Regions from separate parts of the Homo sapiens genome. Here region 1 is linked to region 2. The links are contacts of gene promoters, found by promoter capture Hi-C in blood cells and fetal thymus (Javierre and others, 2016). All regions are on one chromosome and are shown on one strand. Each heading gives the region's core, a stretch centred on a gene start or on the middle of the fragment in contact. The rest is flanking DNA. Distances are from core to core; before and after follow the strand shown.

Evidence for each region. Contacts are between HindIII fragments. The CHiCAGO score rates a contact against its expected background, and 5 or more counts as called.
Region 1: a fragment that was not itself captured here is called in contact with the fragment with the promoter of AKR1C4 in region 2 in 1 of 17 cell types (M2 macrophages); the score reaches 5.3 in M2 macrophages.

What each region holds. Positions count from the first base shown.
Region 1 is chr10:4,866,125-4,868,903 of GRCh38, forward strand. It overlaps a transcript of AKR1E2 not described here. Among named protein-coding and RNA genes, the nearest start is that of AKR1E2, 41 kb to the left of the region's middle. RefSeq lists a cis regulatory region at 555-830 and an enhancer at 1,513-1,807. The HindIII fragment of the contact is 3,641 bases long and covers 1-2,779 here.
Region 2 is chr10:5,195,522-5,198,610 of GRCh38, forward strand. It overlaps AKR1C4 (aldo-keto reductase family 1 member C4), which reads left to right and starts at 1,316. Exons shown (of 9, transcript NM_001818.5): 1 at 1,316-1,430. The coding sequence starts at 1,347. The HindIII fragment of the contact is 18,750 bases long and covers 1-2,467 here.

The DNA of each region.
Region 1 (2,779 bases), core at 244-2,743, 330 kb before region 2:
TAGGTCTGATTATATTTCAGCAAAGTGATCCTCTTTATCATTTCCACTTCCTCCTTCCTGTGCTCTGAGACAGATTTTATGTTTGAATTACATAATAAAAGGTAGGAGGGGTTAAATCTAGAGCCACATCCACATTCTTTTGACGGTGGACTAGAAAAGAATCCAAAGAGAGGACGCGTAGCACTGGAACCAGTTTTCTGGTTTTCTTTTAAATTAAACTGCATTTTGAGATGATTATAGATACACAGGAAGTTGCAAAAAATAATTCAGAGTCTGCCCTTTATTCAGATTCCCTGAATATTACCATCTTGCAAACCTATATAGTAAGTTATCACAAATGTAGCTGCCCAAGGGGTTCACCTTGCTTGCTGCCTAGGCAGAGCCAATTCATCAAGACAGGGAAATTGCAATAGAGAATGAGTAATTCACGCAGAGCCAGCTGTGCAGGAGACCGGTGTTTTATTATTACTCAAATCAGTCTCTCGGAGCATTCAGGGAGCAGAGTTTTGTTTTTGTTTTTGTTTTTTTTTTTTTTTGAGATGGAGTCTCGCTGTCGCCCAGGCTGGAGTGCAGTGGCGCCATCTCGGCTCACTGCAGGCTCCGGGAGCAGAGATTTTAAGGATAACTTGGCGGGTGGGGGGAAGCCAGTGAGCCAGGAGTGCTGAGTAGTTAGAGATGAAATCACAGGGAGTCAAAGCTGCCTTCTTGTGCTCGGTCATTTCCTGGGTGGGGGCCACAATATCAGATGAGTCAGTTTACTGATCTGAGTGGGGCCGGCTGATCCATCAAGTGCAGGATCTGCAAAATACCCAGGCACTTAGGAGCAGTTTACGGAGGGTCAGAATCTTGTAGCCTCCAGCTGCATGACTCCTCAACCATAATTTCTAATCTTGTGGCTAATGTTAATCCTACAAAGGCAAATCTAGTCCCCAGGCAAGAAGGAGGTCTGCTGTGGGAAAGGGCTGTTACCATCTTTGTTTAAACTATAAACTAAGTTACTCCCAAAGTTAGTTCAACCTACCATCAGGAATGAACAAGGACAACTTGGAGGTTAGAAGCAAGATGGAGTCAGTTAAGTTAGATCTCTTTCACTGTCTCAGTCATAATTTTGCAAAGGTGGATTCACAACCAAGATACTGATATTGATATTGTCTTAGACTTCTCCAGTTTTGGTTGCATTCCTTGGTGTCTGTGTGTGTGTTCACTGTTGTACAATTTTTCACACATTCACGTTTCCATCTCCACAGTCAAGGTACAAAACATTTCCGTCACCATGAGGGCCCTCCCTGTCACCATTTTCTAATTGCATTCAGCTGTCTTCTGCCTCTGCTGCCTCCTTAACCCCTGGCAACTAGTATGTTCTTCATTCCTATAATTTTGTTATTTTACAAATTCAGTATAAGTGGAATTACACACTATGTAACTTTTTTGGACTGGCATTCCTCTGTCACCACAATTACCTTGCCATTCAGCCAAGGTGTTGGATGTGCCAATAGTCAGTTTATTTTCATTGCTGAGTAGGATTGCATGGCAAAGATAACGCCATTCATCCGTTGAAGAACTTGACTAGTTTCTTTTTAACCCACAGTTCTAACATTGCTTTCAGCTCTGTGTAGCAGTGATAAGAACAGCGTTGGCCTTCCAGTGTTTTTCCTTCCTTTTCCAAGCCATGTGTTACTTGATGTGACTCATTGTCTGGGCTTTGTCAAAGCGAGAGGCAGCGTCCTCAGGGTCCGTCTTTCTTATCTTTGTAACGAAAACCTTGGAGCATTTCAAGTTTGCAGCTTTCCTATTTTGGTGACTCTTGAAACCTCACTGTGATATATATACTGCCCCCAGAGCAGGCACACTCTAATAATGGCTCCAGTTTTAAGATGGTGCAGCTTAGTAGGAGACTGGATCGTTGGGGGTTTGGGAAATAATGTGGGCTCTTTCTATGGAGTAATGCAGCTGTATAAACTCCAGGCAGCTTCCTAAACTGGGGTCAGGCCTGTAAATACTGTAAGATTCTCCACTATCAAAGACTACAGCAGTCTGTGGTGGCAATGCCAGCTTCTGGGTTCCTGTTGCTTACTTTTTTCCCACAGAGAGAAGTTCTTCCTGGTTCTGAGCTGATCCTGACTGGATGACAGAGTGGCAGAGGCAGCGTGTTTTATTCCTTTCTCTATATGGCCATCCTGAGTCTCTTTGCTCCACAGAGTTTCTCTCATCCATTATCTAAAGACTCTACAGCTCTCCTTTAGTTGCTCTGGTCAAAATGTAGTTGTTTCTTCATCGCTTTGGTCTGTTTTTGTGGGTGGGGAGAAGTGTAGGAACCTCTAGTCAGTTATCTTGCTGACATAAGCCCGTGGAATTTTCTATGTAGTCAATCACGTCACCTGCAAATGGAAACAGTTTTCTTTCTTGTGATATGTATGCCTTTTATCTACTTTTCTTGTCTTACTGTATTGGCTAAAACTTTTAGCACTGTGTTTAAAAAGAGTGCTGAGAGTGGACATCCTTGCTTTTTTCCCAGTCTTAGGGACAAAGAATTCAGCTTAGCTGTAGGTTATTGCAGATGTTCTTTATCAAGTTTAGAAAGTTATCCTGTAGTCCTATTTTCTGAAAGTTTTAATTATGGATGGATGTTAAATTTTGTCAAATGCTTTCACTGCATCAATTGATATGATCATGTGACTTTCTTCTTTAGTTTTTTAGTATGATGGATTATATTAACTGATTTTTGAACATTGAACCAGCCCTGTATCCTTGATATAAGCTATACTTGGTTTTTGTGTAT
Region 2 (3,089 bases), core at 66-2,565:
TCTTACACCAGTCAGAATGGCTATTCTTAAAATGTCAGACAACAACAGATATTGGTATGGATTCTTCACAGATGTTAATCATCTTCGTTTTTTGTTTTTTGTTTTTTTTTTTTTTTTTGAGACAGTCTTGCTCTGTCGCCCAGGCTGGAGTGCAGTGACCCAATCTTGGCTCACTGCAACCTCTGCCTCCTGAGTTTAAGCAATTGTCTTGCCTCAGCCTCCTGAGTAACTGGGATTACAGGTATCCACTACCACTCCAGACTAATTTTTGTATTTTTCGTAGAGACAAGATTTCACTTGATTGGTCTCAAACTCCTGACCTCAAGTAAACCTACCGCCTTGGCCTTCCAAAGTGCTGGGGTTACAGGCGTGAGCCACTGCCCCCGGCCTAATCATCGTGTTCTAGTCTGCCCTCCAATGGGAGAAACAAGTAAAATTATGCCATGTGAGGATTATTCACCAATTTATTTTAATTACTTTTTTCTTTATAACATTTAATAAGATCACAAATTATATAAAATAGTTATCAGCTTTTTGGGAAGTTACTTTTGCTGGTTTCTTATAAAACTGATGGAAGATACAAACACTATTAAAGAACTGTTTGCATGTTGCAAATGATGTCCAAAGTCCAAACATTGTTAATAATTAATACTCCAATAAACATCATGTCAGAATTTCTGTTTTCTTTTCCCTTTGAACCTTTGCAGGATTGCCACATCATCAGGACCACACCTTCATCAGGAATGAATATTCCTACTACAATTAAAGAAGAAACAAAATTAATTTGTTGGTGAAAAACGTAAAAAGAGAAATTTTCTTTGGTTTTGTTTAATTTCTTTATTGAGGGTCACCACTAAAAAAAAATGCTCACTGGTCATTCTTTTGAATACTGTCTGAGAGAAAGATGTAAGATGGTTGATTATTTCAAATGACAGAAGATAAAGATGGGATATCATCATGGCATGAACAAAAACAAGATTTGTAGCTGGAGGTATTTTATAGTCTAACATGATCACCAATCATTCTATAAACCTGTTGGATGAGTTTATCAGACAGACAGAGAGAGAGATTGATTGATTCTGAATAGAAAATTTCACTTTAGAAAAAAATATTTTGACTATATAATAATGTATGTAAAAATTCTCTTTGATAAGAAACGAGTGAACTGGATTCAATTTTCCTCACAGCCTGTGTAATACACCATCACTTGCTTCCTCCTACATGCCATTGATTAGCCCCAGGGAGCAGTGCAGCACTGCCTGCCCATGTTTTACATAACCCCTGAATATAAATGCCAGATGTTGCTGAAGGAAACAGGATCTGCTTAGTGAAAGAAGTGGCAAGCAATGGATCCCAAATATCAGCGTGTAGAGCTAAATGATGGTCACTTCATGCCCGTATTGGGATTTGGCACCTATGCACCTCCAGAGGTAATAATCACATTTTCAGCATTGAGCATTTAAAAGAGCAAAGCTAGAATAAGTGAACGATGACCTGGGTTGTTCAGCTTTGTGTTTCTGTTACCCTGAGTGACTCACGTGGTCTGTCTTACTGGGCTAGAGCTATTCTATGTTCAAAGAGAAAAGGTAGTCAATGTTTGTTTTGCACTGAGGTCTGTCATATGGTAATTTACTGCTTATTTTTATTTTATACACTGTTTTTATATGCTGTTTCTGTGTATTGCCCAGCTTGGCAGAATATATAAAACTCAACAGTGAAGAACACTGCCTGGCAGTTCCCTTTCTAGGAGATGACTGCAGTGAGAATGGTTTCTCCATTTATTTCTGTGGTTGAAGAAATCTTTTATTCTTCTACTAGACGTGATCAAAAGAAACATTTGTGGTAACAGCACCTAAAGATGGGGTGTATGAAAACTGTTGGGAGAGTACTGCTGAGCTGCCGCGTGGTCTTGAGCATGACACAGTAATACTGGTCCTGGACTTAATACAATGCCCTGCACAACTCTCACCTCTAGGAAAATTATCTGAAAGGAAAAATAACTTTATTCTAAGGAAAACCTAGAACCTCACAAGAAAAATTTTAAATTTTTGGTCCGTGTTAATATGCATCAGATTTGTATCAAAATGATAGGGGTGGCCCTCTGACACGGAAGTGGGCAAAATGGAGACATTTTTTCTAGACTGAGCTATTTCTACACTGGAAGAAAACTTGTATTCCAAGACTACTAAGTGTGTTAATAAGGAGTAGTCACATAAAATTTTTGTCTAAATTTGATCAACTATACGTTGTAAGAATTTACAGAGAAACACCTTGAAGACCATCGACAGGAGTGGTTCACTTTGTAATGCAAATTGGCATGAAGGAGAAGTAAGGAAAAGCACAACACGGAAGCTCTAGCCTTGGTAAACCTTGAGTGCCTGCACAGCAAACAGAGGATCAGGGTTGGCATCAGGGGAAGGTAGTGCAACCTGGCATCTAGTTCCTTTTAATTTCACTAGAAAAAGAAAGCTTCAGAAAAGCTTATATTAAAATAGAAAATTGTTTCATTTACGGTTTTGTCATTTAAAAAATATACCTTTCAAATCTTTATCCAAATTTGGTAGATAAGTCAATAATTTTAAATTTCACTGAAATTATATCGTTTCTAAAAGAGTTGGTCTTATTTTTTAGGGATAAAGCGTACCTTACTAATCTCTCACAGGTCGCAGTTAATTTCTTAGGTATAAATCTACATCCTTGGAATGTATGTCTTTACTCCTAGTATTTAGTTCTGTCATGCACACAGAATGGCTAATGGCTGTGTAGAAAGGAGTTAACACAATAGACTGCCACCCGTAGATGCGCCTGTTTTCAAAGTTGGAGCCTGGCTGGTATCTGAGAAGTTGAATTTCTCACCCCTTCCTAACTGATAAGGGTAGCATCTATAATTAACTGGTTGTACAAAGTGTGGGGTTTCTGTATACCTGCTTTCTTTACAAGACCGGAAGTTTGGTGTGTGCTATACAGACTGGGTCAATTTAACCAGCACCCAGTTAAAATCTTGGGAATTGAGTCTCCAAATAGCATCCCTTGTAGTCAACATTTCCCCTATGTTGCCAAAATGTGATGCTGGAGGAAGTCAGTGTGTT